Regions from separate parts of the Homo sapiens genome. Here region 2 is linked to region 1. The links are contacts of gene promoters, found by promoter capture Hi-C in blood cells and fetal thymus (Javierre and others, 2016). All regions are on one chromosome and are shown on one strand. The core of a region is centred on a gene start or on the middle of the fragment in contact, and the rest is flanking DNA. Distances in the headings are between cores, read along the strand shown.

Region 1 (5,666 bases), core at 2,878-5,377:
TCAGGAGGCTGACGTAGGAGGACCACCTGATCCCAGGATGTAGAAACTACAGGGAGCCATGATCGTGCCACTGCACTCCAGCCTGGGTGACAGAGCAAGACCCTGCCTTAAAAAAGAAAAAAAAAATACACTTCTGATCAGAGCAAGAGCTAAGATTCAATGAACTCGGAAGTGCCTTCCTGCTTTGATATTCTATGAAACTGGGTCCATGTAAGCTAGTGAAGAGCCTTGCCCAAGGTCATGCAGCTAATTAGTGAAAGAGGTGGGACCAGAATTCAGGGCTATTCATGTCTGGTTCAGTATTCTTACCACTAGACTATTTTAACTTTGATTGTAGTCTGAGTTGTACTCTCAGGGGTGACCAGAAACCCCATATAAAAACAAGATCAGTAAAAATTGGCTCTGAAATGAAACAAAGCTGCAGCACGGCCTGACACAGTGTACAGAGTGTAAATTTGAGGATCAGATCGAAGTGGCTCTGTCACTCACTCCTGTATGGCTGTGGGCAAGTTACTCAACTCCCACACACACAGACATTGTTTCCTTACCTACAAAATAAGCATAAATATTTCTATCTCATGGGGATGCTGCAAGATAAGTAAGGAGATGTTTTTAGATAGATTGATCACAAAAGAGATAATACACACACACACACACACACACACACACTGCTGAGTTCAGTGTCAAGAACATAGTAGACATTAGAGATGGCATTCAGTCTTCTTCTCTTGTGATCTGGTGGGAACAGGCATTGACCAATCAGAGCCAAGACTGGCTCATCTCCATACCAGTGCACACAAGGTGACTCTTAGCCCACAAGAGGAGGAAATGTTTAGGCCAGCCCTGGGCTCCTGCTGCCATCCCCACTCTGTCACTTCAAAGGCTGGCAGCTTGGGTCTGTAACTGTTAATGAATTATCAATAAACAGGAAAGCAGTGTGGCAAGGAAAGATAACATGAACTTTGGAGCCAAACAGAACCGAATTTCAAATCCCGGCCCTGCCACTTACTAAATCTGTGGATCTTAACCTGCCAGAACCTTAGTTTCCTTTTCTGTAAAATTGGGATAATATTGTGGAACACACAATACAGTTTATATATAAAGTTGTACACAAAGCACAATGCTTTGGCTCGTGAAGCACCTTTTAAAATGAGGTTCTTTACTTTCCACCAAGAACCTAGAACTGTACCGAGCACATTTTAGATGCTAATTAAATGATGCTTGGTAGCATCTCTTTCCTCCTGCTGCTGCTGTACAGCCCTGTGCTGACCTGAACCATAAGCAATGCGGTGTATGTTATCCTGGCTGCCTTTAGTAGGTAGTAAATAGTATACTCTATCCTACCATACTCCTAAGCATTTTACCACTCGCCACACTACTTTGAATATGTAAGATATATATTCCTCATTCAATATTGTTTCTGCAGAAATGTATCTGAAAAGATTTTTAAAGTTTTACTTTTGAAATTATTTGACTGCAAGTAAGTTGTGACTGGCACTGTTCCTTCTGCATTCAAGGTTTCCAGGTACTTAGGAATTCCTACAAAATTAGAAAACTAACCAAAGATTGTTTTCCAATGTAGTGAGATTTTTATGTGTCCCAAATTTCAAAATAAGTGAAATCAACTTCATGCTACTTTAGTAGCAGGTAAGTAAATATTTTTTATTTGATTCTATATTTGACTTTTCCTGTATTGGAGCCAATATATTTTTCCCAGTCTCAAATGTTGTAGGCCCTTAGAAACCTCCCAGATTCTAAGCACTGAGCCTCAAGTGCTTAATGGATAAAACAGCCCTGAGGCTGTGGCAGTGGGGAAAACTCATGATGAATGACTAGGATCAAAACACACAATCAAAGGAACCCCATTCCCAGGCCTCCCTGAGTGAGGCTGGCCAGCTGCATGGGCCAGTACCTACTTCAGGGAAAGCATGTTTGCAACGTATTTGGAATCAGAGCTTGCAAAGTCTCTGGTCAGTCATCTTGGTTGGCAGTAAACGTTTAGGCCAGCCCTGGGCTCCTGCTACCATCCCCACCCTCTCATTTCAAAGCTTGGCAGCTTGGGTCTGTAACCGTTAATGAATAATCACTTGGTAACCCTTCCATCCCAATGGGAGAGGCTCAGCTGAGGGCCTGCAAGAGAGAAATGACTTCCTGGGACAGGGTGGTGGGAGGGAGTAGTGCAGAGGGAGGGAAAGATTTGTTCCCTGCTGCCCAAGTCAACTGCTTTCTGGGTAATGTTTTCCTGGGTTCAAAAATCAATGTTTTGTTTGCTTTGTGGGGAGGAGTGCACGAAGGGATCCCTGCTGTGGAAAAGGTGAGTTCTACTGGCAAACAAGGCTCCTCCACCATGTTTGCCTGAGATGACAAACATCTCAGAATTTTTACATTCAGAAATGCAGATACTAGGAGCCTCGGCAAATTTTGCCATTTTGGAGAGCACTTTATCCCAAAGGTGGAGAAGTTACACAAATCCCAGAGGTTGAGAGACTGAGGGGAGTCCAACACACTATCGCCGACCTGAGAAACTGCAGTGCAGAGCCAGTTCCCCAACTGCAGTCATTTGCTTTAACCCTTGACAATTTTCACAATATCTGCTTACCACCCCTATTATTTTAATAATACGCTAAATATATATTTACTCATTTATTTTAAATAATTCTTTTACAATGAAACTGAGTAATGCCATCTTTCAAAGAATACTAGTGTTACTTTGTAAACAGAAGTAAAAATAAATGTAATGAATATCATCTAACTTTTAAAAATTCTATCCAGATATTGTTTTCAGCTGAAAACTCAGCCTGAGGCCTGTTGTCGTTATTGAAAAGGAGGAGAAACAAACACGGGAAAGTGTAAAAGAATTCACCTTCTTGCTCTAAGAGGAGACTTTCTCTTAAATGTTTTTAGAAGGGTCTGAAGAAATTAAGGCAATGAGCACACACCACCTAAAACCACAAACAGAGACACACTCACTCTGCTCTGCTCCTATGGGAAACTCTTTCCTCTTTCCTTTTTAGCTTGGCGCCAGCCCAAAGGGATGGGTTGAACATCAGGAAGCTCTTAGCCCCAGCTCTGCCACTCACTCGGCGGCCTTGGAAAGAGTACTTGCCCTTGCAGGAACTCAAGCTCCCTCATCTTTAAAATGAGGGAGTCAACTGAGATGAACTCTAAGGTCCCTTCCAGCCCTGACCCTCTATCCTTCCAAGACATTCTCCAGCAGGGCAAAATGTCAGGCATGGAAAGAACCCAACTCGCCATGCTGCTTTGACAGCTGGAGCTGCGATCCCTTCACTAGGAGTGATCATTTTTTCTAACTTCAGTGAGAAACTGGGCCACAGAATGGGGAGGAATGCATTTGACTCCACGACCTTAATAACAACTCTTTCAGGGACACCTAAGCTAGTCCAGCAGAGTGGGGTATTGACCTTTCACATGTTTTTCTTCAAGATTTAGTTTCTCTTAACCGGGCGCGGTGGCTCACGCCTGTAATCCCAGCACTTTGGGAGGCTGAGGTGGGTGGATCACCTGAGGTCAGGAGTTCAAGACCAGCCTGACCAACATGGAGAAACCCAGTCTCTACTAAAAATAGAAAAAATTAGCTAGGCGTGGTGGTGCATGCCTGTAATCCCAGCTACTTGGGAGGCTGAGGCAGGAGAATTGCTTGAACCTGGGAGGCAGAGGTTGCAGTGAGCCAAGATCGCGCCATTGCACTCCAGCATGGGCGACAAGAGCGAAACTCCATCTCAAAAAAAAAAAAAGATTTAGTTTCTCTTTGTGATTTCTCACAGTCTCAGAAAAGATACCTGGGAGTGTGGGAAGAATAGGAGTTAGGGAACTTGAGAGGTCCTGGTTAAAATCTTGTATTTGACACGCTCTAGCTGTGGGATAATAGGAATTTTCTTAACTTTCCTGAGCCTCATTTTATTCATATATATATATATATATGTGAGAAGGTAATCATACCCATAAAACTATTGTGAGAGGTAAAGAAGGTAAGTGTTTATTAGAGGCACAAAAAGGCACATTATCTGCTGGTACTAAACAATAGAATGCCAGGGGTGTTCAATATCTTAGGCTGCACATTGCCCTGCAATAACTGGCTTAGGGTATGAAATTCTTAGAAGGACTAACAAGACTCCCCCATGATGACCTATTCATCCACCTACCTCCTCACTCTGTTCCACTGTCTCCCTTAAGAGAGATGGCACCGGCCAGAGCAGGATGCTGCCCCCTGCTGCTGCTGCTTCTGGGGCTGTGGGTGGCAGAGGTCCTAGTCAGAGCCAAGCCCAAGGACATGACATCATCTCAGTGGTTTAAAACTCAGCATGTGCAGCCCAGCCCTCAAGCATGCAACTCAGCCATGAGCATCATCAATAAGTACACAGAACGGTGCAAAGACCTCAACACCTTCCTGCACGAGCCCTTCTCCAGTGTGGCCATCACCTGCCAGACCCCCAACATAGCCTGCAAGAATAGCTGTAAAAACTGCCACCAGAGCCACGGGCCCATGTCCCTGACCATGGGTGAGCTCACCTCAGGGAAGTACCCAAACTGCAGGTACAAAGAGAAGCACCTGAACACACCTTACATAGTGGCCTGTGACCCTCCACAACAGGGTGACCCAGGGTACCCACTTGTTCCTGTGCACTTGGATAAAGTTGTCTAAGCCCTGGTGCCCACGTTCCACCTCACACTCTGCAGACTGTATGCTGCTGCTTTTCCTCCCTCCAGTTCGTTATTAATCCTTGCTCCCCACTGCAAATGCCATTTCCCTCCCACACACTCAACCTCACATACTCTTGGTTTCTTAGGGAGTTTTACAGACGCTCCAAACGATGAAAGAAGAGGGCAGATTCTCTTCAGCCTTTCATTGTAGCTTACTTTGCAGCCCTTCCAGAGTCAAGCACTCAGGATCCCCACAAGGATGGATCTGGGTTTGGTGAGGCCTGTGGCTCACCAAAGACCCTCTTAAAGAAAAAGAATATAAAATTACAAACGTAAATAAGTCAGATCCTTGGAAGGGCTGTGGCTGGACAGTCCAGGGAGATCCCAGACAGGGGTAATTATCTAAGGAAGGAAGGAAGGGGAATCTCTGCTGTGTTCCCTGTGTTGGGCAAAGAAATGCATCTGATCTTGCTGTAATAAAGACTCTGCTGTTGCTGATGGAGTGTGTGTTACTGTCTTGGGGTAAGTGGAGAGGTTTGGAGCTCCAATTCCAAGGCCCTGAAAAGGCCCTGAAACACTTACTTCTGTGAGGCATCAGCTCCACCTGCCTTGCAGGCCGGAGGGAGAGCAGCACCCTGAGCAGGCACAGTCTGGGAAGCTGGCTTGATTCTGTCCTCCAGCCCCTTGAGGGCTCTCTGGTGGCCCCCTCTCATGTGAAGGGGTAGAGTGACAGGAAGGACAGGCTGAGCCCTGGGATGCCAGTCAGGTCTGAGGCCTGACCCCCTTGTGTGTGCGCAAGACCAGAGTTCATGTTTCATCGACGTGACCCAGAGCAGGACCCTCAGCGTTCTGGAGTGAACTTCCCTCCTTGGGGAATTTCAGAATCAGGACCTACTAGGAGTCCTGATCTGGTCTTAATCATTGCTGAAGACTAACTGTGGTAAAGGAGCAGTTTTATATGCAATCGGCCATAGACCAATACTTTTGTAAAATACAATACAATG
Region 2 (5,666 bases), core at 1,326-3,825, 360 kb before region 1:
TGGGTGTGGGATGAGAGAGGCAGTAGATAGTGGAAAGAGCACAGGGTGTAGACTAAGATAGGCCTGGATTCCTTTCTTTAATCTGTCAATGAAAGCAATGAATGTTCTGAAACTACATGGCAATGCTTTTTTTGTTGCCACTCTGGCTTTTTTTTTTAATGCTATAAAATATATGCCTATTTTTCACTGCCAAGAGGTGACAACACAATGATGCTGCAACCAGAGAAGACAGACAGCTACCAACAACTATTGACAAGACAGAAGGAACATCAAGAATAGATGCAAGACAAAGCAATGTATCTCCATGGCCTAGATTTTTTAGGTTATGCATAGAAACAGCAAGGAGAAGAAGACACAATCCAAGTTTTCTTTTGAGAATATTGTGCTGTTTAAATTTATTTTTTAAACATTTCTTAGCTTTTCTTATTAGTCAATTTCATAAGCCTGGGAAACATCTTTACTCTATCCATTTAATTGCATTTGTTCATTAGCTTACTCATTTCACTTATTAGTTCATTCAAACAGTAGCTATTATCAACTGTCTTCTAAGAACTGTAACTGGGTATTCTGGTTTTGCTTTTTTTTAAAAAATAGAATTAAAAGGATTTCCAAAAGGACCTGATTTTACATTAGAATTAGAATAATACATTTTAAATTAATGTATAACATATATTATTCTAGAATTAGAATAGATTTTAAATCACATTAGAATAATAGCCACATGACAAAAAAGAAAAGAAAAATAATAAAATTAATGACAAAGAAAAACAATAGTCATGTGAGAGGAAAGGCAAAGCCTAAATATTCCTCTGTCCTCTTCCTCCACCTAGATTCCCAGATGTAAGGTATTAAAAGTAGTTTGTAAACTTTCTGTGACGTATGCTGAGTCTATCCAAACTGTCGGGAATTGGAGCCTCCCGGGAACCAAACACTCCCCAAAGATCATACACCTACGGAGTTCCCCCAAGAGACACACAACTGCAGTTTCATGTAGGTTCACCTTTTCTCTCTTTTTATACTCTGTCCACACAAACCTGGCAGCCACGCAGTCAGTCCCTGCCCTGTGTCATTGTACTGGCCACAGCAACTTCTCTCTGTAAATGAGAAAGGTCTTGCTTTCAGAAAAGATCATGTTTGCAAACTACTCACTCTTGAGGAAGAAGGGTGGGAAAAGTAGCAGAGATGAGTGGGGAGATGGTGCATATAAGAAGGAGGAAAGAGGAGACTATGGAGTCAGGATGCCGGCTTGCTATTCTCAACACCTTTTTCCAGTGCCCAGTTCTTACCTTATTTCTCCTGCCCCTTGCTTTCTTTTCTAGGCACCTCTAAGATACTGATGGCTCTGCAGAGGACCCATTCATTGCTTCTGCTTTTGCTGCTGACCCTGCTGGGGCTGGGGCTGGTCCAGCCCTCCTATGGCCAGGATGGCATGTACCAGCGATTCCTGCGGCAACACGTGCACCCTGAGGAGACAGGTGGCAGTGATCGCTACTGCAACTTGATGATGCAAAGACGGAAGATGACTTTGTATCACTGCAAGCGCTTCAACACCTTCATCCATGAAGATATCTGGAACATTCGTAGTATCTGCAGCACCACCAATATCCAATGCAAGAACGGCAAGATGAACTGCCATGAGGGTGTAGTGAAGGTCACAGATTGCAGGGACACAGGAAGTTCCAGGGCACCCAACTGCAGATATCGGGCCATAGCGAGCACTAGACGTGTTGTCATTGCCTGTGAGGGTAACCCACAGGTGCCTGTGCACTTTGACGGTTAGATGCCACCATGTAGGGATTATCGCGAGTGGTTGACCTTACACTTACTCCTTAAATAGCAGTGAGTAATGCATTTGAGCTGTCCCAGGCTCTGTCTCCTCAGCTCATTTCCTACTCTTTTTCTCTATATAACTCATTCTATTAAATACATTGCACCAAAGAGATATGGAGACATAAACCTGTAATGAATGAGGCTGGGCTTTTCTGTAATAAGCTTCCTTTTATAATACTGGTCAGCTTAGCTCTCTCAGATCCTATCCTGTGGAATTTAGTTATTATGTGTATTTATGTAGTATTTCAAACATTTCAAAATGCTTTCATCTATGTTTATCACATTTTAATACCACAGCACTTATAATGATGTCACTACATATAGAAGCTCAAAGTTAAGGGATTTGCTGAAGACTGTAAAGTTAATGGAAGAATTGAGACAAAAATCCAGTGTAGCTGGCCACTTATCCAGGGCTTTTTCTACTTCATCACAAGGAATGTTTTGAAAGTGTCTGCTTTTTTTATCCTTAAAATTCACCTGTCAGGGAGGCATTAAAAATTTGGAAATGTATGCCAGCAAAATGTGAGCTCTGTATTTTTTGGCATTCTTATGTTTGGGTTTAATAAGATTAAGAAAATGATACTGGGAATTTTCTTTTTCCTGAAACTTTGAATCACCCTAGTAAGTCAAAGTACTAAAAAATGTACTAGATCATTAAGACTTATGTGCTCTTACTGATTGAAAGATTTTTTATGTTTTCCTTGTAATAAAGGACCTAAACCGAAGGTACCTGAGAAGACTGTGCTATGGTATTATTTTTTTTCTCTGACTTTTAAATTCTTGTTTAGTTTATAAACATGCATGCACCTTAATAACCTCATAAACTCTGGTCAAAGACTAATGCCTATCAGATCCATGACCACAACACAGAAGATTTGTCTCATTTACTCCAGAGAGAATGATTCCTCTCAAAGACAATTCTCACAGCTCTTCCTTCTCCCTTAGAATATTTAGAAGCAAATTAGGGAGCTGTCAGGTCTCTGAGCCCAAGCCTGCACGTATACATCCAGATGGCCTGAAGCAACTGAAGAACCACAAAAGAAGTGAAAATAACCAATTCCTGCCTTAACTGATGACATTCCACCACTGTGATTTGTTCCTGCCCCACCTTAACTGATCAATTAGCCTTGTGACATTCCTTCTCCTGGACAATTAGACTCAGGAGCTCCCCACCAGAGCACCTTGTGACCCCCGCCCCTGCCCGCTAGAGAATAACCCACTTTGACCGTAATTTCCCACTACCAACCCAAATCCTATAAAACTGCCCCACCCCATCTCCCTTTGCTGACTCCTTTTTTGGACTCAGTCTGCCTGCACCCAGGTGATTAAAAAGCTTTATTGCTCACACAAAGCCTGTTTGGTGGTCTCTTCACATGGACGCGTGTGGCATTTAGTGCCGAAGACCCAGAACAGGGGGACTCCTTCAGGAGACTGGTCCCCTGTCCTCGCCTTCACTCCATGAGGAGGTCCACCTATGACCTCAGGTCCTCAGACCAACCAGCCCAAGGAACATCTCACCCATTTCAAATTGGGTAAGCGGTCTTTTCACTGTCTTCTCCAGCCTCTCTTGCTACCCTTCAATCTCCCTGTCCTTCCAATTCCAGTTCTCTTTCCTCTCTAGTAGAGACAAAGGAGACGCATTTTATCCATGGACCCAAAACTCAGACACCAGTCACGGACTCGGGAAGATAGTCTTCCCTTGGCGTCTGATCATTGTGGGGATGCCTGCCCTGATCATTCACCCACATTCCATTGGTGTCTGATCACTGTGGGGACACCTGCCATGGTCATTCACCCACATTCCCTTGATGGCAAGTCAATCGCGGGATGCCTGCTTTGGCTGATCGTCCACGTTATAGCCCAGGGCTGCTCACCACCCCCTTTGCTGTGTCTCTACCTTTCTCTTTAAACTTACTTCTTCACTGTGGGCAACCTTCCACCCTGCATTCCCCCTTCTTCTCCCTTAGCCTGTGTTCTCAAGAACTTAAAACCTCTTCAACTCACACCTGACCTAAAACCTAAATGCCTTATTTTCTTCTGCAATACCGTTTGGCCCTAATACAAACCCAACAATGGTTCCAAATGGCCAGAAAACGGCACTTTTGATTTCTCCATCTTACAAGATCTAGATGATTTTTGTCGAAAAATGGGGAAATAGTCTGAGGTGCCTGACATCCAGGCATTCTTTTACACATCAGTCCCTCCCTAGTCTCTGCTCCCAATGTGACTTGTCCCAAATCTTTCTTCTTTCTCTCCTGTCTGTTTCTTCAGTCTCCACCCCAAGCTCTGAGTCCTTTGAATTCTCCTTTTCTACAGACCCATCTGACCTCTTCCCTCCTCCCCAGGCTGCTGCTCACCAGCCAGGCCAAGCCAGGTCCTGATTCTTCCTCACCCTCTGCTCCCCCACCCTATAATCCTTTTATCACCTCCCCTCCTCACACCTGGTCCAGCTTACAGTTTCATTCCATGACTAGCTCTCCCCAACCTGCCCAAAAATTTCCTCTTAAAGAGGTGGCTGGAGCTGAAGGTACAGTCAAGGTTAATGCTCCTTTTTCTTTATCCAACCTCTCCCAAATGAGTTAGCATTTAGGCTTTTTTTTTTTTTTTTTTATCAAATATAAAAACCCAGCCCAGTTCATGGCCCATTTGGCAACAACCCTTAGACACTTTACTGTCCTAGACCCAGAGAGGCCAGAAGGCCGTCTTATTCTCAATATGCATTTTATTAGTCAATCCACTCCTGACATTAACAAAGCTCCAAAAATTAGATTCTGGCCCTCAAACCCCACAACAGGACTTAATTAACCTCGCCTTCAAGGTGTACAATAATAGAGAAGAGGCAGCCAAGTGGCAACATATTTCTGAGTTGCAATTACTTGCCTCCACTATGAGAGAAGCCCCAGCCACATCTCCAGCACACAAGAACTTCAAAATGCCTGAACTGCAGTGGCCAGGTGTTCCTCCAGGACCTCCTCCCCCAGGATCTTGCTTCAAGTGCTAGAAATCTGGCCACTGGGCCAAGGAATGCCTGCAGCCCGGGATTCCTCCTAAGCCATGTCCCATCTGTGCGGGACCCCACTGGAAACCGGACTGTCCAACTCGCCCAGCAGCCACTCCCAGAGCCCCTGGAATTCTGGCCCAAGGCTCTCTGACTGACTCCTTCCCAGATCTTCTTGGCTTAGTGGCTGAAGACTGACGTGGCTCAATTATCTCAGAAGCCTCCTGGACCATCACAGATGCTTTCGGTAACTCTTACAGTGGAGGGTAAGTCCATCCCCTTCTTGATCAATATGGAGGCCACCCACTCCACATTACCTTCTTTTCAAGGGCCTGTTTCTCTTGCCTCCATAACTGTTGTGCATATTGATGGCCAGGCTTTTAAAACTCCCCAACTCTGGTGCCAACTTGGACAACATTTTTTATGCACTCCTTTTTAGTTATCCCCACCTGCCCACCTCCCTTATTAGGTTGAGACATTTTAACTAAATTATCTGCTTCCCTGACTATTCCTGGGCTACAGTCACACCTATTCCCACCCTTTTCCCCAGTTCACATACTCCTCTTCTGTCTCCCTACCTTAATCCACAAGTATAGGATACCTGTGCTCCTTCCTTGGTGACCGATCATGCACCCCTTACCATCCCTTTAAAACCTAATCACCCTTACTCCTCTCAATGCCAGTATGCCATCCCACAACAGGCTTTGAGGGGACTAAAGCCTGTTATCACTTGCCTGTTACAGCATGGCCTTTTAAAGCCTACAAGCTCTCCTTACAATTCTCCCATTTTACTTGTCCAAAAACTGGACAAGCCTTACAGGTTAGTTCAGGATCTGCA

Evidence for each region. Contacts are between HindIII fragments. The CHiCAGO score rates a contact against its expected background, and 5 or more counts as called.
Region 2: a fragment that was not itself captured here is called in contact with the fragment with the promoter of RNASE8 in region 1 in 1 of 17 cell types (M2 macrophages); the score reaches 5.0 in M2 macrophages.

Annotation. Positions count from the first base shown.
Region 1 is chr14:21,053,695-21,059,360 of GRCh38, forward strand. It overlaps RNASE8 (ribonuclease A family member 8), which reads left to right and starts at 4,128. Exons shown (of 1, transcript NM_138331.2): 1 at 4,128-4,761. The coding sequence starts at 4,199. The coding sequence ends at 4,663. It also overlaps a transcript of NDRG2 not described here. The HindIII fragment of the contact is 6,358 bases long and covers 2,047-5,666 here.
Region 2 is chr14:20,698,036-20,703,701 of GRCh38, forward strand. It overlaps RNASE4 (ribonuclease A family member 4), which reads left to right. Exons shown (of 2, transcript NM_002937.5): 2 at 1,320-3,181. The coding sequence starts at 1,337. The coding sequence ends at 1,780. It overlaps EGILA (EGFR interacting lncRNA), which reads right to left. Exons shown (of 4, transcript NR_174964.1): 2 at 1,287-1,463; 3 at 1,001-1,094. Among named protein-coding and RNA genes, the nearest start is that of EGILA, 6.1 kb to the right of the region's middle. RefSeq lists a silencer at 1,616-1,781. The HindIII fragment of the contact is 1,171 bases long and covers 1,991-3,161 here.